Linked DNA regions of Homo sapiens: region 2 is linked to region 1. The links are contacts of gene promoters, found by promoter capture Hi-C in human tissues and cell types (Jung and others, 2019). All regions are on one chromosome and are shown on one strand. Each heading gives the region's core, a stretch centred on a gene start or on the middle of the fragment in contact. The rest is flanking DNA. Distances are from core to core; before and after follow the strand shown. Region 1 holds the start of FRY (FRY microtubule binding protein). Region 2 overlaps STARD13 (StAR related lipid transfer domain containing 13).

What was found. Contacts are between HindIII fragments. The study calls those that stand out against the background at their distance.
Region 2: a contact is called between a fragment that was not itself captured here and the fragment with the promoter of FRY in region 1, in 1 of the 25 tissues and cell types used here (aorta).

Annotation. Positions count from the first base shown.
Region 1 is chr13:32,029,674-32,035,491 of GRCh38, forward strand. FRY (FRY microtubule binding protein) reads left to right here and starts at 2,101. Exons shown (of 61, transcript NM_023037.3): 1 at 2,101-2,192. The coding sequence starts at 2,123. It overlaps FRY-AS1 (FRY antisense RNA 1), which reads right to left and starts at 1,966. Exons shown (of 4, transcript NR_103839.1): 1 at 1,778-1,966. The HindIII fragment of the contact is 5,087 bases long and covers 1-4,385 here.
Region 2 is chr13:33,115,366-33,121,183 of GRCh38, forward strand. STARD13 (StAR related lipid transfer domain containing 13) reads right to left here. Exons shown (of 14, transcript NM_178006.4): 8 at 2,700-2,898. Among named protein-coding and RNA genes, the nearest start is that of KL, 100 kb to the left of the region's middle. The HindIII fragment of the contact is 8,860 bases long and covers 1-5,818 here.

The sequences.
Region 1 (5,818 bases), core at 851-3,350:
ATTCCAGCCCAGGCGACAGAGTGAGATTGTCTCAAAAAAAAAAAAAAAAAAAAAATCAATGTAGCTAAAATTTAATGAAGTGTTAACTATGGGCAAGATACTATGCTGAGCCCCTTTCATACATAGTGTTATTTATTGTTTCCAACAACTATAGGAAGAAGGTACAACCCCATTTTACAGATGAGGAAACGAAGGCTTAGCAAAGTTAATAGCTTACTTTGGGGCTCAAAGCTAGTAAGGGCTGGTGCCAGGAGCGAACATGGGGCCCTGCCTTGAGAGCCCATGCCATCGTTAATCGCAGGGCACTGTGCAGCCTACCTGTTCATTCACTGCCATCTGAGTCTTGGCAAGCATCAGATGGGCGTAGGTATGAAATTTATTTTCAGATATAATAATTGTTTCAAGGTAAAACCTTTGGGTCTTATTTTACCTAGAATCCATACATTCAAAGTACAAGTGATAAAATCAGTTCAGCAACTCTAGTATGCACATGAATTAAAAAGAAGTCAATCTGGTGAGAGATTTCATCAGAATAAAGTGTATAAGTGGAGTTGGAAATCTGAGTGATTGAGTGCTTGCCATTTGGGTAAGTGTAATGAGTTTGAAAAACTAATTGTATTGATGAAGTATCTTAGGGCCTTTCAGAACATAGTTCTAGAAGTTTTATTTAGTGTTGAATTTTAAAAATTCTTTGTCCTAACAATAAAAGTACATTGTAGTCTTTCCCTTCCATTTTTAAAATGAACTGTTAATCTAGGAAGTCCTGTTTGTGTGTTGATTTGGGGAGTTAGCCCAACATTTGCTATGTTAAATACTTATTAACATGGTTTATTACTTTTTTCTGTTTTTTAGACAACATTAATCATGAATGTACTGGGACTTGGGAAGGATCCTGTGGTTTATGAGATAGTTGGCCAAATCCCACCTCTTCCAACATAACCTGTCATTATTAAAATATAATACTCTTATTTAATCCCCTGGTCAAGCTAAATGATAATGTGAAACAAAGCTAACCAAAATCAGGACACCTGATATCAAGAATTCATGAAATCAAGAGCCATTGTAGAGCAAGGAATCTAATGCTTTTGCTTCTTATCCTTTTCATACAAATAAAATAAGCTTCACTGGGCTTAGTGAGTCTTAGAAATGAGAGGTTTGAGAATAAGATCCATTGTGGAGTGTGTGACATTACAAAAACAAGCCAACTAAGCAGTGTGTACTGTCCCCTTAGAGTGCACACGTTCGGGCTCCGATGCCCCTTGAAAAGACTGCATTTCTGGGAGGGAAAAGTAAAAATGCAGATACCACCATGCGTGTGGAAGGCAGGGAAGAAAAAGCCCAGACAAGCGTCCTCTTGTTGAGTCTCTTTACTGCAACGAGGCTGACGGATGGGGTTTTTCAAAACGTCGCTGCAACCAGATGCAAGGCTGCAGCTTTGCTTACCGCAGCGTGCTGCAGTTGTGTTTATTTCAGGGACAGACACAAGGGGAAGCAGCAGCCAGAGCACACCCGGGCCGCTCACGGGAAGCCTTGCTGAAGAGAGAGGATCCGCAGAAGCTGGGAAATTCCTCCCGCAGCCTAGGCGGAGACTGAGCCGCGGCTCAGGTTGAGACAGTGGGCAGGGGCAGGGGGCGGCGCTCCCGGCCCATCCCTTAGCCCCGCGGCGGCCGTGTGGGCCGGAGGCTGCCTGCACCGCGTCAGGGAGGCCGGCCTAGAAACCCTCCCTCCCAGAAGAAAGCCGATCCCAGTTCAGGTGGGGTCTTCCTCGGTTGCGTACCTGGCTGGAGCCGAGCTGGTGGGCGGCCGGCAGCCGGCGTTTCTGGTGATGACAGCCCCGAAATGAAAGCAGCGCGGCCGCCGCCTCCGAGGGCTGCAGGGAGATCAGCGTCCAGCAAATAAGAAGCAAGTCCTGGACCCGGAGGAGGAGGAGCGGCCGAGCATCTCTCTCTGCTCCGCCGTGTCCTTTAGATGAGCACTCCCGGCCGGAGCCGGAGGTGGATCCGCAGAGCTGCCTCTGGGCGCCTGACCCCGCGCTGACATCACAACCTGTGACAGGCGCATCACGCCCGGTACCTGCTCCCGGCCGCTGCCCGTCCTCCCAGCCTCTTTGTATGCCGCAGACATGGCCAGCCAGCAGGATTCGGGCTTCTTTGAGATCAGTATCAAATATTTACTGAAATCCTGGAGTAATAGTGAGTAATAGAAAATAACCTTTTTGTTTGTTTGTTTGCTGGATGTTGCATAAGGCTGGAGACAGAAAATCTCAACTGGACACATATGTTTGTGAGCCGCGGAAGTTTTTCTTTTTTTCTTTTCTTTTCTTTTCTCTTTCTTTCTTTCTTTCTTTCTTTTTCTTTCTTTCTTTCTTTCTTTTTTTGCTCCCATCTGCTGTGAAAATCAAAATGTCAGAGACTGAACTAGCTTTCCTTAAGTGCAAAGGCTGCAATGGAATTACAGTAGATTGTGTTTGATTAAATTTTCAAGTGAGGCAGCCCTTCAGACTCTGGGGGAGCTCAGGATCAGGCATTCCTGGCTGCATTTCCTGCCTTGATGTTTATTTGATTTGTTCAGGCTTTCTCTAAATATTTTGTGAAGTGTGATTTAATCAAAGGGGTGTGGCAGGGTTTCAGAGTACTTTGTAATTGTTTTTTTAGGGTATTGTCTGAAGAAAGAAAAGTATTTAATAGTCCAAAACCTAGGACATCCTTTTTGTATATAGAGGCATCTGCAGATTTATTTCATCTCTCCCTCTTCCATGTGGATGATGTTCTGAATGCCATTTAATATTTGAATTTTTAAAAATCCTGATGTTTGCTATAGTCCAAATATTGTGCTTTTTTGAAACATAAACAAGTGAGGTTCTGACCCTAATTATTTATTAGGATAGCAGAATATGATGGCTCCTGAAGTTCCATTTCTGACCTACATAAGGATTTTAGCAATACGCTATTTCAAAAAGACAACCTCTAAGCTGCCGTGGATCTGGAATCAAATTAAAATGAGGCCTTCAGGTGATCAATGATGCCTTGTATTTTCCGAACTGTTTAAAAAGAAAGTCTTCTCTATTTCACTAACAGCCTTTGTACTTGCTTTGGATAAAAGATCAGCAGGTATTACTGATGCTTTATTGTTTTAAATAAAAAAATTTTTTCCCCGTGAAAATTTTAATATTGTATTATGTGCATACTGATTAACCTACCTGTGCTCAAAGAGCTAGTGATTAATTGTCTCCTACACAAATGACCTGTGGCCAAGATTGTTCTTATATAAACAAAACCTGGGCAGGAGAACCTGTGCTGCAATTGCTTTGAGGAAAAGAGCTAAAGTACCTTCAGCCTTAAGGTATTCAGGGATGTGCATCTCTAAATGATATCCATAGAAACCATTTTTTCCAGGTCATTTTGCACCACTGTATACACTATGGGGCTTGTCTGAAGCTGTTTTTCTACAAGTGGGAAGCCATTTGGGAGTAATACTGTTGCCCAAACAGCATTCTTTACTTGTCATAGCTATAAATCATTTAACTTGGACTCATTATTTTTATAATACTTTACACTCAAGGATGAATCTTCCTTTGTCTATCTGCTCTTTGATTAATGAAAAGAATTTGACATACAGTGTTCTTTATGGAGCAGTTTTCCAATAACTGAAAAAACTCACTTTTGAGTTGACATCAGTACGTGGTTTTTAAACATATTTGATTATTCCAAGACCAGACTGTTTTCTTCCATCAATTTTTGTCATTGCATCATTAAATAGAAAATTATGTTGTGACAATACTGAGGCCAATGGGATTTCTTTTAAAAATTTCTCTCCCCTTGTCTATTTTCAAATCACTCTAGATAAAGTATATATTCTCTCCACCCTTCCTAAACTCCTCTCCCCACATACATACTTCAGGAAATGATTCAAAATGACTGTTCATTTCTACTTTGAGAATATCTGTGATACAATTTTGAATTCTTCCAATTCATTCAGCAAATATTTATTGAATACCTACTATGTGCCAGGCTGTGGGGCTACACAAGGTGAATAAGACACAGTCCCTGCCCACTATATTAATTTTTTTATTTCAGAGTAGTGAAGTTGGTGGCTTTCCAGCATTCTTTTGAGGGGGAGAATGTTTTTCAGTCCTTTCTTGAAAGAGGAAGAGGAAATATACTTTGTTTATCTTCTTTAAGCTTGTTACAACACTAACCTGCTTACAATCTAGCATAGTTCTCATTGCTAAGTTTTACATATTTTGAGCAGCAAAGAGAGAAAGGAATTTGTCTGTGTAGAAGGCAAAGTAGAAACAGAAGCCCTAAGGCTCAACATACTCAGTGTAACCTTGGCTGAGAGGATGCACCATGAGGCAAGCGGCTAATTGCACCTGCATGCACCTGCACGCGCATGCCTGGCCTCACAAGTTTGAGAGGTGAGGATGTCTGCCCACATACCTGAATGGAGACTCAGCCTCTTAATTATATGGTGGTGCTTATTTACAAAAGTGCAGTAATTAAAAAGCAATAAAACAAACTCTATAACTATGACTGGCTGTTTTGCAAGGTGTTAGAAGAAAGGTAATTCCATAAGCGTTTCCAGGTAAAGCTTTCCATATTTTTTTAAATGGCACATTGTGGGGAAAATGTAATTATATATATATTAGTCCCCTCCAAAGAATTCACAGGCCAATAAATAGATCAGTCGCTGGCTAGTGAGATGTACTAGCTTTCATTCGATGTTCATTTTGGTGTTCTCCTCTTTATCGGCACGTCTACTCTGTCATGCTGCCCTTTGATTTGAATGGAGGTGGGAATTAAAATGGCCTTGATGTCTGGAAATAAAATGTCCTATGTAGACCTGAATATGGAGGCTTTCCTGTCCCCTTGGATGTCTGTCCTGTTGCTCTTCCCTGCTCTTATCCAGCCTTTCCCCAGCTGTCTAGTGGTTCTCACGGCTGCGGCCCCTTGTTAATCATGGCCACAGCCTCCACATGCCCTTCTCAGTTTAACCTGGAATGCTCCAGTGGTGTCCTCACAGTCAAAGGCTGCTCCCCAGCTCCCTTTTGCCTCTGAGTGTCAGTGGTAGCCACTCAGGACCCTCTTTGAGCTCCTCGTTCATCCTCTCTCATGTTTTTCTGCTCCAGCCAACCAAGCTTAATCTACTCACTCTCCTCTGTATTTAACTAACATGCTCCCAAATTCATGCCTGTACACCCATCAGTCTCCTAATAAGGCCTCGCTTACCTAGAATGTAAAAATGGCAGGGCCAAATGGGCTTCAGATCTCTTGCTCCTGCACTTGCATGGCTTCGGACAGTTAAGTAATCACTCTCAGTTTCCTCATCTGTAAAATGTACGCAAAAATAATGGGTACCTCATAGGAGTAAATGAGGTATTAAGATGTAAAGCACTTAGCACAATACCTAGCACATTGTAAATGCCCAATAAGCATTAAAATAATATTCATGTATTCTAATGCCCTCCTCCCTTCTAAATCCACTTCAAATCGGATGTAGACCATGTCTTCCCTTAGCCTTGGCATCCAAAGTGGGTTATTTTATGAGTAATCAACACTTGCTACACTCTAGAGAAGAGAACTACATAAATAAATGTCAAAATTAGTTGGTTATTTTGGGCTGGTTTTTTTTCTCCCAGATTTACATTTTTAACTTTACCCCTTGACTACTTTAACTTTCTACCTCACTTACTATTAAAATATCCCACTTACCCTAAGTGCATACTTTCTAGCAGCTTGGGAGTTGGTCTGGGAATTTTCTTAGTGGCAGAAAGTCACTTTGGCCTCTTAGGTTTGCTAGAGAACAAGTTTAAAGTGGA
Region 2 (5,818 bases), core at 1,246-3,745, 1.1 Mb after region 1:
ATTTGGAACCTTGATTAGTATGCTGACTCCCTGAGTCTCCATGCTCGTCCAGTTCGGTGCCTCTTGTGCACCACTTCCAGATTCCTGGGTCAATGACACTGTGCTGATGGACTTTCTCCCTGTAGCAGATACAAGGCTGGCCACCTGCTCAACTCAATACCCATTCTTCCCTTCTTCCTCATTAAGAAAACACATGTTCTGCTCAGGTGTGAGCTGCAATGTACTCAGGGAAATGGGTGTCTCCCTCAGACCCAGGGATGAACCATGCTGCCCTAAACCAAAACTGGTAACCCAGGTCTTCTTTCCAGTGTTTGGTTTAAGGGGGAAGCTGTAAACCACTTCTGCCTGAGGGCCAAGAAAAATGCTGAGAGCTTCTGTAAGATGTATGACCCTGATAAAAAGAGACACATGGCCAAAGAGAAGCGTGGTCACTCTCTTCTTGTCTTGGAATGTGATTTTGTGAAGATGTGATAATTATAAGTTGTGACAATTATATTGTGACCTTAAAGGGAAAGCCAATAGAGGCTGACTTTAGCCCTGGCATCACTGAGCTGCGGGATACCCAACTCTGGAATTATGTGAGATAATAAAATGTACTTATTGTTTAAATGACTGTTCAAATGACTGTTCGTTGGATATTTGGTTCTGTCTTTACAGCTGAGAACACTGTAACTGGTAAGTCCCTCAACAACACCCGACGGTTCCCCAATGCTTAATGAATCAAGCATACACTCCTTGCCCTAATATTCAATGTCCTTCCTTTATGGCCCCAGCGTCATTTTTCAGTGTCATTTGGTGTCACTTTGTATGTCTGCCATACATGCAAGCCAGATGAATACACTGGGCTCTCCTGACTTCTGCTTATGCTATCTGCCGAGCAGGTACCCAAAATGTGTTCCTCACATATCTCAGCCTTCAGTTGTCACTTCCTCCATGAAGCCCTCATTCTTCATCTCTCCCTCCTTGGACTTTTCTTTGTAACCTTTCTATGGAAATTCTCCAAATTTGTTGTGTTGGAGTTTTTTGTGTTCATGCCTCATCTCCCTCAATTGTAAGATCCTTAAGATCAGAGAGTGAGTCTCATCCATCCATATGCTCTGCCATGCTAAGCACGGTGCCCAGTACAGAAGTCACGCTCTGTAAATGTTTGCTCAGCTAAAATAAAGCCTGCTTTGATCTGGCTTCTTGCTTGTGACTCAGAAAGGGCCAAAGACATTTATTTCTTGAAAGTAATGTGGCTTTAGCCTTAGACTAGTGTCAACTTTAATCCAAGAACTGATTAAATGTAAAAGACTCATATCTGATACTTCCAAACCATAAGGGAGACTTAATTGAAAAATGTAGTTCAACCTCTCACAGCAACAACATCAAGAACTCCCTGTTTGGGCTCTAGCAACTTGTACCATTAACTTAACTTAATCTACTTACTTTGAAAAACTAATATTTACTTAGTGGGTTGCCACCTTAATCTGTTTTCACAAGTGGTTCTGATTACAATCCTTTCTGAGTTTGCAGTATCATGGACTCCTTAAACACATTTTATACAGAATTCTCTATAGCATGGATATTCTTCAAATTGAATCAAGTCCATGTCAAGGTCCATTTCAGGCATATTTTGCTGAAAACTCAAAACTCAAAGTCCATGGGCCAAATGGCTTTTTTCCCCCATGAATTGGGATCTGGACCATCAAAATAATTCATAATGTTAACATTGTCATATCTAGCAAAGAGTCACGTGTTTAATTTCATTCTTTTTTTTCTGAGATGGAGTCTCGCTCTGTCACCCAGGCCGGAGTGCAGTGGTGCAATCTCCACTCACTGCAACCTCCGTCTCCTGGGTTCAAGTGATTCTCCTGCCTCAGCCTCCTGAGTAGCTGGGATTTCAGGCACCCGCCACCATGCCTGGCTAATTTTTGTATCTTTTAGTTAGAGATGGGGTTTCACCATGTTGGCCAGGCTGGTCTTGAACTCCTGACCTCAGACAATCCAACCACCTCCACCTCCCAAAGTGCTGGGATTACAGGCGTGAGCCACCATGCCCAGCCCATGTGTTTATTTCTAATACCCCCATTGCAACCACTTATAGTAGGATATGCTTCTTAATCAACAATTGTTATTTTCAGGGATTATTTTAATTATACAGGCTTTGCTGAGAACTTAACATTATTAAAAAAAATCCAAGTGAAAATATAAATAAGTTTATTTAAGCTTAAGACTTGATTTGGTTTGCTTACTTTTCACCAATGAAGATACTTTGTGCTAAAATACATTTGTTTTTATTTCCTGTCATTTTAATTCATGTCACTTTGAATTTCCTATATCCCAAAGAAATGCTTACTTTTTTAAAAAATTGAATAAGTTTTAATAAATACCTATATATAAAACAACTTCTATTGTGTCCCTTTTTCATTTTAAATTTTTGTAAATGTATTGAAAGTTTGTTTTAGATCATACACAAAACTCTTTTGAGAAGGAATATTTTGATGTCAAAAAGGTATTTTCAAATGCATAAAAAAATGGCTTGTGGATTTCCATATCAAACTTTGAGCAAAAGTTACTTCCGTAGAGGAGAGCAGGATTACATACATCTTTATGGATTGATGTATTATTCGTATAATTAAAACTCAATCTATAGGGAATTATTTTCATTAAAGTGGAAGGATGCCCACGAGAACACCAATCTCATTATTTCCACTTACACTGATAGATATGGAGAAAGGTCTCACTGAGCTTGTTGGTGAAAAGAGGCTCAGGGAGGTCCCGGAAGAACTGTTTCACCATATCCGCCACATCATAAGCAGACTGGTCTTCATAGTTGACGTTCTCAGGGAAGTTTTCATTCATTTGGCGAAGGGCATGGATTCGAGACTTCACTCCTGATTTGCGAAAAAGACCCACCTGAAACAAAGCCATAGGGATGTGTCAGCCAGGCCACACTTGGTTGTGAGGAGGAGGAGGAAGCATGGGAAGGGAACTGGATGAGCTGGAATTGCCTCCCAATTAGTACATGCTGAACTACTAGTATAGCTACTTTAGGCAGTACCCGAACACTGTCTTCCTCTCCTATGAAATGAAGATAAGAATAAAACCCCACCTCACAGGATTACTGTGGAGAGTAAGTGAGGAAATAGATGTGCATGTGCTTTGCGACCTGTTACATCTTATCACACTGCAGATGTTATTATTATTTTATTCATTTATTCAACAAGTAGTGATTAAGTAACCACTGTGTATCAGGCATGCTTAGAGTTCCTAGGTGTCATTAGTGAGCAGAACAGATAAAATTCCCTGCCCTTTAGGGTTTACATTGCCATGGGGATTTTGAGAACGTCTGGTCAATGGGAGGTTTGGTGAAAACAATGTGGGTCGTGGATGAAAGAATCCCAGATAAACAGCCATATCCAGTGCCCCTGCAGGGGAGAGTTTTATGGGGAATATGTTCATGAAACAGACTAATATCATAAGTACATATTTTGATTTAAGGAATTTATTTACTTTTTCTTCTTTGGAATTCTTGGCACTTACTTTTCTACCTGTTTGTTTTTATGCAGTAAGCTATGGCTCTAGTGAGAATGATTCCTGGGTGGCTTTTTTTTCAGACCTCAAGATATTGTCATATCATGCCTTTTTCATCTTAGAGTCTAGACTCCTCCCCTACTTGATGAATAAATGGAGCATTAAGGCATCAAGGACAGAGTGGCCCTAATGAGAATGAGTGAGGCAGAGCAGAGCCCGGCAAGAATGAAGATCCTGCAATGGTGGGGCAGGTTAAGCTCTAGGCCCTCTAGAGGAACTTTCTGTGCTGGACTTACCCGCTATTCAAAAAGGAACTGAACTTTCCTGGGCACCCTGGCTTATAGTGAAATAATATGTCTGCTATTTTTTAAATGCCTATAGGGAGTTGATTTGCTTCAACCCTCAATTTTCACAGCTCTCATTCCCCAGTGGCTCATGGGTTGGCCCACTTCTGCAAAGCAAGGTAGAACCTTCCTGAGTGGCTGGTCAGGTAGACAGTGGCCACTAGTGTCAGCCACTGCTCATCCCCCCTATACCTGGAGGAAAGCCTAATACAGGTCGTCTTACTGATCACTCTGTGTGCCAGGCCGGCCTCCACCCAAGTTCGGGTATGTGACAAAGGCTTTCCTGATTGCTGCAACAAATGGAGAGCAGTCCTCATTCTTTTAAATTGTGGTAACAGCAGGGGAAGGATTCCAAGCCATTAGAGCATACTCAGGTTTTTGTATATGTCAGCCGAATGGATCACAGGGGAAATTATACACTGCTACTTTTTGTGGCCATAAAAACAGAATTCTTAGTAATATTTCTTTGCATTCCAAGGTTTATCGCTCTAATCCCACACATCAGGATATTCAGGCTGATAATATTGTCACTTAAAATATGAGTTACTTTCTTTTTTATTCTTAAAGTTTGGAATGTCTAGAAAATGCACAGTTTTGCCATACTTAGATGATTCGCCACAAAGAATCCAGACAATATTTATCTTCCTTCAACTGGCAACAACTCCAAATTTCATCAAAGGGCATGGAAAGAAAGCATGTACTGTCAAAAGAGAAAAAAATTCAAGATGTCAGGTGAGTGATTATTGGGGTGAGATCCATCTCCGATTTGTTTACATCTTCTGCTTTTCTGATTTTGGAAGGAGGCCCAGGACTGTGCACACCACAGGGCTGGCTGTGCTGTACGAGAGTTCTCATAATCGAGATGCCCTGAAGGTAAATACTTCAGTGTGACTCACAAATATTTATCCTCATATGAGCAGGTATTATTCCATTTGAGAAGAATTCCTACTTTTTTAACAGCAGAGAAATGTTGATCAGGATCTACAAAAAGAATAAAGCAGACAGTGTTTCTGTTTAAATTGTCGAGCACGTTCCTCTTTTGTCCACCGTGTCTTGCGGGCTGTTTCTGGGCACACAGTCATGTGCGTGCACACACACATCCCAGAGATGCTATCTTTGTATTGTTTGGTTTCCAAATTTCTTTCTCGTTTCAGCAAATATTGTTATTTTAATTATTTTAGACATGTCTGCAGCTCTCCAGCTGTGGGCTCTGAGCTGCTTTTTCTGACTGAGATCTTAGGATGTCCAGAGGGTAGTCAGGGATTTATTGTGCTGCCTCGAAGTCTGACAATAACCTTCCTGCCCTGGCCTTGTCTTCTAGGGGACATGGGAAATATAGACGTATATATATATTTTGGTTTCTGTGGATTTTTGTTGGAAGTACAGCAGGAAAATTTTCTTTCATAAACCTAATAAAGAAAAGGTGGTCTCAAATCAGATTCCAGTTATAGTAGCTGAAGATGGCCAAAGGGAAAGATGGAAAGAACCTCTCTTCAAAGCTATTGATGAGCTGATGATTGAGCTAACCCTGGAACCGTTCTATTTCCTGACTTTTTTTTTTTTTGAGACGGAGTCTTGCTCTGTCACCCAGGCTGGAGTGCAGTGGCGCATTCAAGTGATTCTCCTGTCTCAGCCTACTAAGTAGCTGGGATTACAGGCACCTGCCACCACTTCCAGCTACTTTTTACATTTTTTAGTAGAGACAGGATTTCGCCACATTGGCCAGGCTGGTCTCGAACTCCTGACCTCAAGTGATCCACCCACCTTGGCCTCCCAAAGTGCTGGCATTACAGGTGTGAGCCGCCATGGCTGGCCTATTTCCTGACTTTTTGTTTGTGTTTTGTGAGACCATGAATTTCCTGTCATTTAAGCCATTTTGGGATGGGGCTTCTAGTGGTTGCTGTGGAAAGCCACTGGGCACAGTGAGTAGAAGATGGTCTTTCTAAGGCATAGAGAGA